5 separate regions of the Homo sapiens genome follow, and regions 1, 3, 4 and 5 are each linked to region 2. Evidence: promoter capture Hi-C in 16 types of primary human blood cells and fetal thymus (Javierre and others, 2016). All regions are on one chromosome and are shown on one strand. Each heading gives the region's core, a stretch centred on a gene start or on the middle of the fragment in contact. The rest is flanking DNA. Distances are from core to core; before and after follow the strand shown.

Region 1 (2,700 bases), core at 194-2,693, 680 kb before region 2:
ATGATGCATGTAATTATTATACTATACTTACTTTACAGGCAACAAAACAAAGCCTATATTACAGGAATTATTAGTCCAGGGTCTATTTACCTAAAATGTCCTTTAGGAAGGCACGAACCTCTCAAATGGCAATGCATGGTTGTGTGAATGTGCATCTGTGCATTTTTCTGGGGAAAGGGTTCACAGCTTTTATCGGTATATCAAAAAATACATGTCCCAGGCCTGGTGCCGTGGCTCACGCCTATAATCTCTGCACTTTGGGAGCCTGAGACAGGTGGATCGCCTGAGGTCAGGAGTTCGAGACCAGCCTGGCCAACATGGTGAAACCCCGTCTCTACTAAAAATACAAAAAAATTAGCCAGGCACGGTGGCGGGCGCCTGTAATCCCAGCTACTCAGGAGGCTGTGGCAGGAGAATCGCTTGAACTCGGGAGGAGGAGGCTGCAGTGAGCCGAGATCGCGCCCTGCATTCCAGCCTGGGCGACAGAGTGAGACTCCGTCTCAAAAACAAAAACAAACAAACAAGACCCAAATATGATTTTTTAACTGCTACTACAATGGTTAAACATTCTCTATTAAATCAAAGTAAAATTCTTGAGTCTGATGTTAACTGTCCTCCACCTACTAGAGCGCCCCCCATCTCCATCTACTAATATAGCCTTTCGTTTGAAGCCATGCTCTGCACCAACTCACCCTCATACTGTCCCGACCTGGAATACATCCCCAATTCCAAAGCCCATCCATGCTTCCAAAGGCTTAACTCTGGACCCATCATGAAGCCTTCCTTGTCTACTCCAGTCCCCACTGATATCATATGGCCTCCAAGCGCGCGCGCGCGCGCGCACACACACACACACACACACACACACACACACGGACGCACACATTCCCAAAGGCAGTCCCCTTCAGCCCTCTTCTCACACATTCGTGCTCCTACATACACACTGTGACGTGCATCTGCCTCACACACCCTGACACTCCACATTCACAGAGACACACACGCACTGTCACACTCACTAAACACCTGGTCACAGCCTGACAGTCATACCCAAGTTCCCCGCAACAGCTCTATCTATGCCCAGTACCTCAAATACAACTTTGGACACACAGGCATAGTATCTTTCTCTCTAATACACACACACAAGCCCACTGGCCCCCAAATACTGCCCAAGGTCCCACCAACCATCTATCCCACACTGTCAGCCCTGTGTTCCACAGACGCTCAAACCCACCGCCGCTCCAACCCACCGCCGCTCCCTCTCACGCCCCGCCTCACCCGATGCTGGTACAGACAGACGTTCCCGAAGCCGCCGGTGCCCAGCCGCTCCCGCATCTCCCAGGGCCCGCCCGCGCCCGGCCGCAGCCCCGGGGGCCGCTCCATGGGGCGGGAGGGCAAGCGGCCTCAGGTTCCACAGTTGTTCCAAGGCCGGTTCCGGGCCGCCGATGCTCGCGCGTCTTTGTTCTCGCGAGAATGAATGCGTCACTTCCGGTAACCGCTGCGAGAAGGCCCTTCCCTAAGTTCTCCCAGGGCGCTGCCAGAGCCCTGCCGGCTAAGGGATGGGGAAACAAACAGGTACTCGGTCCGCTCTTTAAGTCCCCTACGTATTTTCCGGGAGGGCTGAACGGAACCACAATGTTTTTCTAGTCTTGGAAAACATAAGATCTCTCCAAACCCCACATTCCCGTCAAATCCACTTTTCAAAGCAGCCCAGTCTCTCCTGTATTTTTTTCTTTTTAATTAAGATGGGGTCTCGCTCCGTTGCCCAGGCTGGAGTGCAATGGCACGATCACGGCTCACTGCAGCCTCGACCTCCCGGAATTAAGCGATCTTCTCACCTCCCGAGTAGCTGGGATTGCAGGCGCGCACCACCTCGCTTGGCTAATTTTTTATTTTTTGTAGAGACATGGTCTTGCTACGTTGCCCAGGCTGGTCCCGAACTCCTGGTCTCAAGTAGTCCTCCCACCTTGGCATCCCAGAGTGCTGGGATTATAGACATGAGCCACCGCGTCCAGCAATTAGTCTTTTCTAAACTTCATATTGTCTCTACTCCTATCTACACTTCACCTTTCTTCAGATCCCTGCCATCTATCCTCCAACTCCACCACCAGCTGATCCGGCACGCTAAAGACCACCAATGATTTAAAGGCTGCGAAATCGTTAAAATACTACGCTAGCAGGCCCACTAATGAATTAGCCTTCTTGTTCACTGACTTCCCAATACACCTGCTCCAGGATATCCCCTGTCATCCCAAATGACTCAAGAATGTGACGCTATTCCGGAGTGAAGAGTGTTTCTCGGGATTTCGCGAGCTTTTTTCCTAGATGCCTCACAGAGCTTGCTGTCCGGCAGTCCAGTTATGGGTTTGCCAGCACAGTAGTTCATTGTGAGAAGTGTTTCTAATGGGTGCTACAGGGCTGCAGAGGCAAGCTTTGGGAATGCTGTTGGTGCAGCAAGTGCTTCCGGGTGGCGGATTGCCATAGCATAGGGGAAACAACTCCTGGTCTTCCATTTAAGAGGGTCATACCTTCACTGTACCTGGGGGATCTCAATACTCCAAGTAAAGGAATCAGCATGGAATCAAATTATTGATAAATGTGATGCTGCAACCAGAATGTTGAGCACTGCATGATACAGACGAAGTCGATGTTGTAGGTCATTAGTAACATGTGGTATGGGAGGTTCTGGTTTCTGTAAGTGCA
Region 2 (2,700 bases), core at 141-2,640:
CTTAGTGACCAGAACAGTTCAATTTCGTTTTTTCTAAATTTTAATTAATTAATTTATTTTTGAGACAGGGTCTTGCTATGTTGCCCAGGCTAGTCTCCAACTCCCGGGCTCAAGCTATCCACCTGCCTTGGCCTCCCAAACTGCTGGGATTATAGATGTGAGCAACTGTATCAGGCCAATAGTTCAATTTCTATACAATAAACTTGAAAGACCCGTCCAAATTATTTTATATCATTTAAGATTTTTTTCCATCCAACTGATTAAATAACTCTGTCAATTAAAGCTTGGACATCTTGAAATTGATATTTTGGTTGTTAACAGTTATTGCAACAGTATTTGACCTGTCTCTGGAAGATTTTGTAAAGAAGTAAAATTCGCTGTAGGAATCTATCTGGGGAAGAAAGGGAACTATAATTTGCTCTGTACCTGTTACATGAGAGAATCTGAACTGTGCAGTGTACACTGTTTTATCCTTTTATGGTTTACAATTACCCAGAAAAGTGAGTAAAATGCCCGTTTTACAGATGTGGAGGCTGAGGTTCAGAGATACTGACCAGTCTCTCGGTTTATAAGGAAAACCATGGCTAACAGCCTCCAGAGCACAAGCCCTTTACAAAGGAGGGTTGGAGATTGCAGGCAGCTTTTACTTATCTATGCTGCCCACGCTTAACATGGAAAACTGAAAGCTGACCTTGTGTTCCTTTAAAAAATCTCCAAGGAAGTCGGCTGCAGAGACTTCATGGTAACTCATGAGAAACAAAATGCTTTTGTGGATTAACAACTGTCTTTATTCCAATGGAGTTTTTTGGGGGTTTTTTCTTCTTCTTAAAGACAAAAAAATAATCTACCGCTGACACTCAACAAGAACCGTCGTAGAATGGACAAGTCTTCGGATCGCGCTGTGCAGATCCCTCAGCAAATTGTGACAGTATTATGGCACTTTGGCCTAAGCTGTTAAAGAGACGATGTAATGAACAGCTGCGGATTTCTGAGGCACAATTGTGTGACACAGGAAGCCCAAGTGTTGGCCATCCTCAACGAAGGCAGCTGCCGGGCTCCGGTTTGCTTCAGCAAACCCTCACCCCTCGCCTTCAACCAGGCGGGTGTCGTCAGCTGTCCGCCAGCTGCTGCCCGCGCCTTTCCGCCCCCGCGCGCCGGCCAAGGCCGAGGCGGCCGGGACCAGAGGCGCGCGCCCTCAGTGCATGTGACGGGGTGGGAGGGGGAGGTTTCTTCCTCCCCCGTCCCCAAGCCCCGCCTTCTCCAGAGAGGCTGCGGCTTCCTATTGCGCCACCACCGAAATGACCACCGTGCCAGCCAATCAAGACGTGATTCATGAAGTAAGACCCGCCCCTTACTGGTCCCCAGGTTCCTTCCCGCTCACGCCGGAGTCACTTCCGAAGAGAGAACCGCCATGAAGAGAGAAGGGGGTGCCGCCCACCTCTGCTCCGACAGCCTCCCGGAGTCCCAGCAGCAAGACGGCAACCACGCACCCAACTTCTCCAGCCACGGCTCATGCCGCCGTCGCCAGCGGCGCCGACATGACAAGGCGCTGCATGCCCGCTAGGCCAGGTTTCCCCTCATCCCCAGCCCCGGGGTCGTCGCCCCCGCGCTGCCATCTGAGACCCGGTAGTACCGCCCATGCTGCAGCGGGAAAGAGAACAGAGAGTCCTGGGGACAGGTACCGTGCAGAGGGCTTGAGAAGGGGCCGGGTCGCGGGGGCAAGGGTATGAGGGGAGGGCTGCAGACCGCCGCTCTTCCAGTTCCCGCCATCCTCCGCGAGCTCAGGCGTTGGCATTTCGGGGCCTGGCAAATCCCCGCCCCGCCTCCGCGCAGGGGCTACTGGGAGTTGGAGTTTGCTTCTCTGTAGTTGGGCAGCTGCTCTTGGTCTAGTGACCACCAGCCTGGACAGCTACGGAGAACCCGCCTTAGGTAGAAAGAAAGTGATTTTTTTCCTTTGCAAGAGTTTGACCCGGGACCCTAACTGCTTAATGCATATTTAGATCGTTTTCTGTACGTTGTCAGTTCTACTGATCCTAGTGGTTTAGTAATATAAACCTTTTCTATGTTGTGGGTGAAATTATGTAACCTGTGATGAGGGAATCCCTTCCACGAATTACTTTGTAGTCCAGCGTGCACGCTAGTTCATACTTAAAAGAACTTGCAGATTTGGAATGTGACGTGTTTTCTCTTTCAGTAACTTCACGCCTCTCCAAGAGGCTAATTTTTTTGTAAAGATTTTGTGGGAGCTATGTAATGAGATGGGGAGTTTCATCTAATGACATCCTCTGACAATAAAACATGTTTAAATTCCCTACGAACTTGGTACTGTCTTTTATTTTAAGTTAAATTGTATTAAGTTTTAACAATATTCATGTTACTAATACTGTGGTACAGGCCCACAATCCCTTATCTTAACTCTGAAAGCCAGAAAGCTATGAAAACCAAAACGTTTTCAGTAAGTTTGGCACCACATCTTACTGGGCAGCCAGATCTGACTAAAACTAATGTAAGGCTGTTTGTGGTCTTTATCCCATTAAGTGTGAATATTCATGTTTTGCTGGAGAAATGTCAGTGGATTTGATTACAGGTTGCAGCACCAGACCCCACTGGGGACTTTCCATAATACATCCAAGTTATCCCCTTCCTAAAATCTGATAAATTCAGAATTCTAAAACACATTTGGCCCCAGAAGGTTCAGAT
Region 3 (2,700 bases), core at 53-2,552, 570 kb before region 2:
GAAGGACACCGGGTGAATGCATAGCCTGCCTGGTTCTGAGCTCTCATGGTAAGGCTCCTACAGACACGGAAAAGATGGGGGCACAGGGACAGATCAGTAGGGTCAGAGCATCTCAGGGACCGAGGGCAATATGGTCCTGAGCAGGGATTAAGAGCTTGGGCTCTCATATGGTGTTTCTGGGCTCAACTGCCAGCTCCATCACTTACTGGTTGCTGTGACCATGGGCAAGTTATTCCATCTCTCCATATCTCTTTCCTCACTTTTAAAATGGAATAATGGGGTACCCACCTCCCAGGGTCACAGAGAGGCTTACAGAAAACGATTCTTGTGAATTGGCTTGCAGTAATAATTCAATACCTGCCAGCTATTCTTATTCCACATCCAAGCCCTTTCGCCTGCTGCTGGGTGAAAACACATGTCAGTGTTTCCTGACGGTTTCCACAAAGAAGATTCCAAAATTACAACCTGCCAGTCTGAAGAATCTCCAAAACATCCCGCACGCATCCTGGAGGCGCGGGCTTGGGGATGGGACTGCCCGCCCGGGTCCTGAACAGGATGCGTGCGCGCAGGCACACACACACCAGCCAGCCTGTGTGTGCGGCCGGAGTCCGGTGCGGTCCCGGGTGAGCAGCGCGTGGCTGGTGGGCGGGGCAGAGCCATTGTTCGCAGGCGTACCGAGTCCCCCGCGCTCGCCCGGGAGGGAGGCGGGGCTTCCCGCGTCCCCCAAGCTCCAGATCCTGGGGTGGCTGCCACGTCTCCCTGCCACGCGCCTGGGGGGACGGAAGACGGGACGGAGATGTTAGTGGTGGGCGCCCCCCGAGGGTTCACCACTGTTTCCTGAGAAACTTCCCCAGTGCCCACCCACCCGTTCTCCGTGTGCCCGAGGGCCGGTCCTGGGCTAGGCTCCGCGCCCCAGCCCCAAACCGGGTCCCCAGCCCCTTCCAGAGAGAAAGCTCCCGACGCGGGATGCCGGGCAGAGGCCCAGCGGCGGGTGGAAGAGAAGCTGAGAAGGAGAAACAGAGGGGAGGGGGAGCGAGGAGCTGGCGGCAGAGGGAACAGCAGATTGCGCCGAGCCAATGGCAACGGCAGGACGAGGTGGCACCAAATTCCCTTCGGCCAATGACGAGCCGGAGTTTACAGAAGCCTCATTAGCATTTCCCCAGAGGCAGGGGCAGGGGCAGAGGCCGGGTGGTGTGGTGTCGGTGTCGGCAGCATCCCCGGCGCCCTGCTGCGGTCGCCGCGAGCCTCGGCCTCTGTCTCCTCCCCCTCCCGCCCTTACCTCCACGCGGGACCGCCCGCGCCAGTCAACTCCTCGCACTTTGCCCCTGCTTGGCAGCGGATAAAAGGGGGCTGAGGAAATACCGGACACGGTCACCCGTTGCCAGCTCTAGCCTTTAAATTCCCGGCTCGGGGACCTCCACGCACCGCGGCTAGCGCCGACAACCAGCTAGCGTGCAAGGCGCCGCGGCTCAGCGCGTACCGGCGGGCTTCGAAACCGCAGTCCTCCGGCGACCCCGAACTCCGCTCCGGAGCCTCAGCCCCCTGGAAAGTGATCCCGGCATCCGAGAGCCAAGATGCCGGCCCACTTGCTGCAGGACGATGTGAGTTTCCCAGCCTGGCCCCGTACCGCCGGGTCGCAGGCGCGGGCTGGGCTTCCAGGGGACGGGTTGGTGGCAGAAGAGAGGGGAGAGCTCCGCGGAGGACTTGGTCATCTTTTTCGAGTTGTGCTGCCTTCCGTGAGTTGGGAATGTGGATTGTAATTTGGGGACTTGAGTCTCCAACTTTAGTTTCTTAAGCTTTAAAGAAAAATCCGGTCGTGCTGGTGCTTTTATGAATTATGCGGGTTTTCCTTTGTCTTCGTGGGGATGTGAGTGCTTTACTTCTCCTTCCTACTGCCGCCTCCCGATAGGTTTCGCGCCCCTCGTCCCCCTCGCCCTCCGCCCCTAATGTATCTGTACAGTTTCAGGGAACTTTTCTCCGTTGCGTCTCGGATACACCCTACCCTCAGTGAACTACGGCGCTGCGGAAGGGTCCGTACTGTCCACCCTTCCCCCAGCGTGATTAGAGAGCGGAGTGGCCCCAGCTGCCTCCACGTGTCTCTTCTCCTGACTCTCCTCTTCCTCCCCCTTCCAGATCTCTAGCTCCTATACCACCACCACCACCATTACAGCGCCTCCCTCCAGGGTCCTGCAGAATGGAGGAGATAAGTTGGAGACGATGCCCCTCTACTTGGAAGACGACATTCGCCCTGATATAAAAGATGATATATATGACCCCACCTACAAGGATAAGGAAGGCCCAAGCCCCAAGGTTGAATATGTCTGGAGAAACATCATCCTTATGTCTCTGCTACACTTGGGAGCCCTGTATGGGATCACTTTGATTCCTACCTGCAAGTTCTACACCTGGCTTTGGGGTAAGCAGCCTCCCTGTCCTCCTGACCTAGTCCTCCAGGTACTCACTGCTCTTTTAATAAGGTAGGATCTTACAGAGGACACCAGCCCCTCCCAGCCTCCCGGTTGGGGTTTTTCTCAGGCATTTCTCTTTGGTTGCTTCAGGCCTAGTGGGCTGGGAAGAACCTGGGGGTACTGAGATGCAGGACTGTCAATGCTGGGGGTTGAGAGCTTTGGAACCTTGTGCTTGTGGGCTTTGAAGTGTGCTGTGCTGGAGAGTCAGCTTTCCCTGAAAGAGCTTTTCTGT
Region 4 (2,700 bases), core at 78-2,577, 730 kb before region 2:
CTGTGGTCAACATTTTAGTTTAATACCTAGTGATCTCTCACATGTCCTATTCAGTTTCCTTTTTAATAGAAGTGCTACCACCAGTACTGCTTCCTCCTGGTGAACCAACAATCTGGTACTTAATTGCTTTGCCCTTGTCACACCTTTGTTCAGATCCAGAATGAATGACTTCCTGCTGTACTCTAAGGCCTCAAATAGGTCAGCACCTAATGAGTACATTCTAGACATACTGCATCTTATCAAGCACAAAGCAAAGGAAAAAGGAATCACAGTCCCTGTTTCCAAAGAGTTCACAATCCAGCACAGGAGACAAAATGTTACAATGCAATCAATCCATCAACAGGTACAAAACAAAACAAAACAAAACCAAAAACACAAATTATAAACTGAACTGTTAAGTGGTAAATTACAGAAAGTGAAAAAAATAGTAGTTTGAAAAGCTCTCTGAGGTGAAGGATTTATAAGCCAGGTCTAGAGTGGGAGAAATAAGAACAGATGAGGCAGAGGAACATCTTAAGCTCAATAAATATCCTACTGAAATACACACAGTTGAAGACAACATGTGTATAGGCGAACGAAAGTAGATAGGCTTGCCTGGAGCAGAAGGGACAATTTGGATGAAAGATGAAATTCTGACAAGAGACCATGGTAATACTAGACAGAGGGCCCTGAATGCTGGCTGGGGAGTTTGGGATCTCTCTAGTTCACCTTATATACAGTCACAAAACGAACCATTCAAAAATATGTTTACTTAATTCCTTTTCTCACATGTGATGTAGTTCTCATTCTCCATCTTATAGGGAGGTAAGAAAACCAGCTGGGAGGCTAAATAATTAATTTATTTAGATTAATTCAGTAAAGGCCATGAAAGCTGTCAATCCAGACATAATAGAGGAGGTATCTGATACTTGGTTGATATAAAATTCCAGGAGGGGAAAGAATAAAAAATAACTCTTAGGTTGAGACATTAGAATGACAGTAAACATTGGTGGCAGTTCTAGGTTAAGGGGATTGATGAAGAGACAAATTATATTTATTTCCTTTATAACATTAATTCAGTTTCCATATTCCACACCAACTTTAAATACACGTTCCTATTTAAACCAAAAGGATATTCTCTAGCCAATTTTCAAACTCAGAAGAACTAGGAAAGGGTTCAAATGTTAAATCTTCCATTTAACACCCTATCTTTATGTACTTTTATATTTCTTTTATGTCCTCTTAAAAATTACTTTCCCAGTATGACAGAAAATTTATTTAAAAAGTGAATCTATGGTTACTTTATGAAGGCTGAAGGTTTTCATATAATTTCTCCATTGCTTTTTCTTTTTACATCATATATGGAATTTCACATTTATATACATTCCTTTCAATTGCCAAGTTTGTTAAACCATTTGTTTATCTGGACTATGTCTTCTAATATGTTCCAAAAATTCCTAAAAATAAATTTATGTCTTACTCTCTTAAGAACACTCTTTTTTTTTTTTTTTTTTTGAGACGGAGTCTTCCTCTGTTGCCCAGGCTGGAGTGCAAGGGTACGATCTCGGCTCACTGCAACCTCGGTCTCCCAGGTTCAAGCGATTCTCCTGCCTCAGCCTCCCAAATAGCTGGGATTACAGGCACGCACAACCACGCCCAGCTAATTTTTGTATTTTTGTAGACACAGCGTTTGACCAGGTTGGCCAGGCTGGTCTTGAACTCCTGACCTCAAGTGATCTGCCTGCCTCGGCCTCCCAAAGTGCTGGGATTACAGGCGTGAGCCGCCACGCCCGGCCAAGAACACTTTTTAAATATGGTTTTATTAATATAATTATTTCCTAGAATGTTACCGTTTTACACATAAAGAACATTCCTATTTAGTCACACTGGCTGGCTCTAGCCCATGTAAAACTTTTTTGTAGATGCGAAGTATTTTAGTTTACACTGAAGTCTCTGTACTAATTTCATTTACATCTCTTATGATAGTTTATTATTAAATATATACACACACTATATTTGTTATATATATACACAATTAAACTCCAAAATCTGTTTACTATTATCTATATCTCCTTTATTTATATTTTTGCATCAGTATGACTTAACATACTAAGCATGAAGGCAGAGACAGATCTACCTGGTTTTGAACAAGATCTATTTGTTAGAGCCTTGATTTTTTTTTTTTTTTTTTTTTAAGAGACGGAGTTTCCCCATGTTGCCCAGGCTGGTCTCAAACTCCTAGGCTCAAGTGATCCACCTGCTTCAGCCTCCCAAAGTGCTCGGATTACAGGCATGAGCCACTGCGCCGGGCCTTAGAGTCTTGATTTTTAAGGGTCTAATGCTGCCATTGCTAACATTATTATAGATTGTTTCGGCTGTTGATGAGGTTATGTAATTAAAATTCCTCCTTTCACAGAAGACTAACTGAAGTCTATGACAGTTAAGCAATTTTTCCAAAGTCATGCCACCAACTGGCGGTAACGCTGGGTCCCCATGTTCATTACACCACATTGCTTCCTGAGAAATCAGCTCAATTTAACAACTTCCACCATAAATAGAAAGCCAGAAATATAAATGTGTTACAACTCCTGCCTTTAAGAAAACTGGAGCCTTTCTGGAAAGAAAACACATAAAAAAACTTAGCAAACAATGCAAGACAACAATATTAAAGAAAATAAGACAAAGGGCCAAAATTTACAATATAGACTTTAAGAGCTATAG
Region 5 (2,700 bases), core at 158-2,657, 710 kb before region 2:
GGCTCTTCTGTAGCTCCATGATTTCAGCATGCAAAGACATAATCTGATCCTCCAGGTATCCAATGACACCAACCTAAAATATGATGAAAATACAAAGGAAATGAAAGGCTTACCACTACATCATAGGAAACAAAATTCAGATCTTAAGGATACAGAATGACTTGCTGCTTCATTAGAGAACTAAATAATATAATACGAAACACTGATTTTGTTAAAGCCTTTCTATTCTTCAGATTCTGACACTTAATCTTTCACATAAGAACATACTTAGTCTTAGTCTTCTCTCTTTTCTCTCCTGACAACAGTAAACTACTAGTATTTGCTTTTACCTCCGGAGAAGCAAAAAGCTACAACAGGTATCAACTAACAAGAAAGAAAAAGGACCACCAAAACCATTGGTATTACTTGTATCTTGGCTCTATGATTTTGACTGCCCCCTGGTCCCCACTACCTTGAATAGGGACACAAAAAGATAAAGAACTTGGATTTCCCACCCCAGGACACCATGGGTATCCCCACCCACATCCTCAGGGTAAGTACTGACATTAAGGAGTGTAATAACTTAGGACCGTGGACAAATGTACAGGATAAGGGGAAAAAATCTGCCACCTAGAGAATGAGCTATACCTAGGGACACCATATAATTTATTGTCCAAACCGGCATAATTTTGAGAGTGAAAGGGACTACTACTGATAATTATGGCAAGACATTAAGTATAAACTGGGACAGTCCCAGGTAAACCAGGATGTGCAGCCATCCTATCTAAACCAGTCACAAAAATAATAGTGACAACTACCATTACTGACTCCCATTTAATCTTCATAACCCTACTAGAAAAGAAATTGTCCCTATAATATGGAAACTAGCTGGATGTGGTGGCTCATGCCTATAATCCCAGCTCTATGGGAGGCTGAGGTGGGAGGATTGCTTAAGCCCAGGAGTTTGATACAAGCCTGGACAACATAGTGAGACCCCGTCTCTACAAAAAATGTAAAAGTTAGCCAGGCATGGTGGTGCACCTCTTGTCCCAGCTACACAGGAGGCTAAGATGGGAGGACTGCTTGAGCCTGGGAAGTCGAGGCTGCAGTGAGCTTTGATCATGCCACTACACTCCAACCTGGGCAACAGAGTGAGACCCTGTTTCAAAAAATAAATAAATAAAGGAAACTGAAGCTCAGTGAGGCACTAGGTAATTTTCCCAAAGCCCTTGTTTTTAATCACTATGATACATCCCTCTTTATATACAAAGCATCTACTAGAATTTTGTCTGAATTTCAGGAATGACATGAAAAATGCTCTTTATATATCAAAACCAAAGATAGTTTCTAATGGAGACATCAAGAATTAATAAGTATACAGAATGACGTCAATGATTTTACCTCAGCATAGTGGATGGCCTTTTCTTCCATTTCTTTCCATGCTTTTAGCATTTTTTCTGAAGCTAAAAGAAAAGTCTAAATTGGTTATCTCAGAAATAGCCATATCTTTAATTACTGGCTGCCTGCCTCCTTGCCATATCAACATCAAAGATGTGTTATGAGTTGAATTGTGGTCCCCCAAAAGATATGTGGAATTCCTAACCCCTAATACCTCAGAATGTGACCTATTTGGAAATAAGGTCATTACAGAAGTAATCAGATAAATTAATACTCATACTGGAATGGTCTGGGCCCTTAGTCCAGTACGACCAGTGTACTTAGAAGAGACACAGGATACAGATACACAGGGGAGAATGCTCTGTGACAATGGAGACAGATTGAGGTGCTGCAGCTGTAAGCCAAGGAATGCCAATGATGGCTAGCAGACCATAAGAAGCTAGAGAGAAACAAGGAAAGATTCTTCTCTACAGATTTCAGAGAAAACATGGCCCTGCCAACACCTCAATTTTGGACTTTTAGCCTCCAGGGCTGTGAGACAGTAAGTTTCCATTGCTTAAGCCACTCAGTTTATGGGATTTTGTTATGGAACCCTTAGGAAATGAATACAGATGACTTTTTTCTTAAAAATATATATATTTATACCAGTGTGCAGATGGGTGGATAAAGGAAAAAACAACAAAAAAAATTTTTTTTTGAGGTAGAGTCTCACTCTGTCACCCAGGCTGGAGTGCAGTGGCATGATCTCAGCTCACCGCAACCTCTATCTCCAGGGCTCAAGCGATCCTCCCACCTTAGCCTCCTGAATAGCTGAGGTGTGCACCACCATGCCCGGCTAATTTTTACATTTTTTGTAGAGATGGCGTTCTACCCCATGTTGCCCAGGTTAGTCTTGAATTCCTGAGCTCAAGGGATCCACCTGCTTTGGCCTCCCAAAGTGTTGGGATTACAGGCGTGAGTCACCACCTGGCCAGAAAAGAAATTTAATACTTGAATATGATTTTTAAAAATTAAATACTATAAAAGGATATAAACAGAAAAGACTCTCTCTTCTACCCCTCTACCATCCACCTCAAGGGACCTTACTATGATTATCTGTTACATAGACACATAGCCTGCTCCCTCACAAGTGAAAACATCTGTATACTCTTTATTTTTTCCCACAATTTAAAACTGTCAACTAAAGACTTAGGTGATCTTTTAATAAAAGCACATATAGATCTACCTCATTTTTCTTTAACAATTGTATAATAAGCCTTTGACAAGTCTAAGATATTTTAATGAAATAATTATAATGTTTTATCACTCACCAGAATGTCAATA

What was found. Contacts are between HindIII fragments. The CHiCAGO score rates a contact against its expected background, and 5 or more counts as called.
Region 1: a contact is called between the fragment with the promoter of CHUK here and the fragment with the promoter of SLF2 in region 2, in 6 of 17 cell types (M2 macrophages, M1 macrophages, M0 macrophages and 3 more). The highest score is 14.3, in M2 macrophages.
Region 3: a contact is called between the fragment with the promoter of SCD here and the fragment with the promoter of SLF2 in region 2, in 6 of 17 cell types (M2 macrophages, M1 macrophages, M0 macrophages and 3 more). The highest score is 7.9, in M2 macrophages.
Region 4: a fragment that was not itself captured here is called in contact with the fragment with the promoter of SLF2 in region 2 in 1 of 17 cell types (M2 macrophages); the score reaches 5.1 in M2 macrophages.
Region 5: a contact is called between a fragment that was not itself captured here and the fragment with the promoter of SLF2 in region 2, in 1 of 17 cell types (M2 macrophages). The highest score is 8.5, in M2 macrophages.

Annotation. Positions count from the first base shown.
Region 1 is chr10:100,228,153-100,230,852 of GRCh38, forward strand. It overlaps CHUK (component of inhibitor of nuclear factor kappa B kinase complex), which reads right to left and starts at 1,444. Exons shown (of 21, transcript NM_001278.5): 1 at 1,276-1,444. The coding sequence starts at 1,380. CHUK-DT (CHUK divergent transcript) reads left to right here and starts at 1,508. Exons shown (of 4, transcript NR_186419.1): 1 at 1,508-1,572. RefSeq lists silencers at 1,182-1,421, 2,491-2,700 and an enhancer at 1,532-1,581. The HindIII fragment of the contact is 6,397 bases long and covers 1-2,426 here.
Region 2 is chr10:100,911,573-100,914,272 of GRCh38, forward strand. SLF2 (SMC5/6 complex localization factor 2) reads left to right here and starts at 1,391. Exons shown (of 20, transcript NM_018121.4): 1 at 1,391-1,678. The coding sequence starts at 1,539. RefSeq lists a silencer at 911-1,180 and enhancers at 1,401-1,470, 1,491-1,540. The HindIII fragment of the contact is 2,989 bases long and covers 282-2,700 here.
Region 3 is chr10:100,345,931-100,348,630 of GRCh38, forward strand. It overlaps SCD (stearoyl-CoA desaturase), which reads left to right and starts at 1,303. Exons shown (of 6, transcript NM_005063.5): 1 at 1,303-1,601; 2 at 2,134-2,416. The coding sequence starts at 1,575. RefSeq lists silencers at 568-947, 1,148-1,197 and enhancers at 738-1,329, 978-1,047, 1,428-1,667. The HindIII fragment of the contact is 6,474 bases long and covers 1-1,794 here.
Region 4 is chr10:100,180,039-100,182,738 of GRCh38, forward strand. All of the region lies in intron 2 of ERLIN1 (ER lipid raft associated 1), which reads right to left. Among named protein-coding and RNA genes, the nearest start is that of ERLIN1, 4.6 kb to the right of the region's middle. The HindIII fragment of the contact is 4,344 bases long and covers 1-2,700 here.
Region 5 is chr10:100,200,708-100,203,407 of GRCh38, forward strand. It overlaps CHUK (component of inhibitor of nuclear factor kappa B kinase complex), which reads right to left. Exons shown (of 21, transcript NM_001278.5): 14 at 1,381-1,442; 15 at 1-73. Among named protein-coding and RNA genes, the nearest start is that of ERLIN1, 16 kb to the left of the region's middle. The HindIII fragment of the contact is 3,181 bases long and covers 1-2,700 here.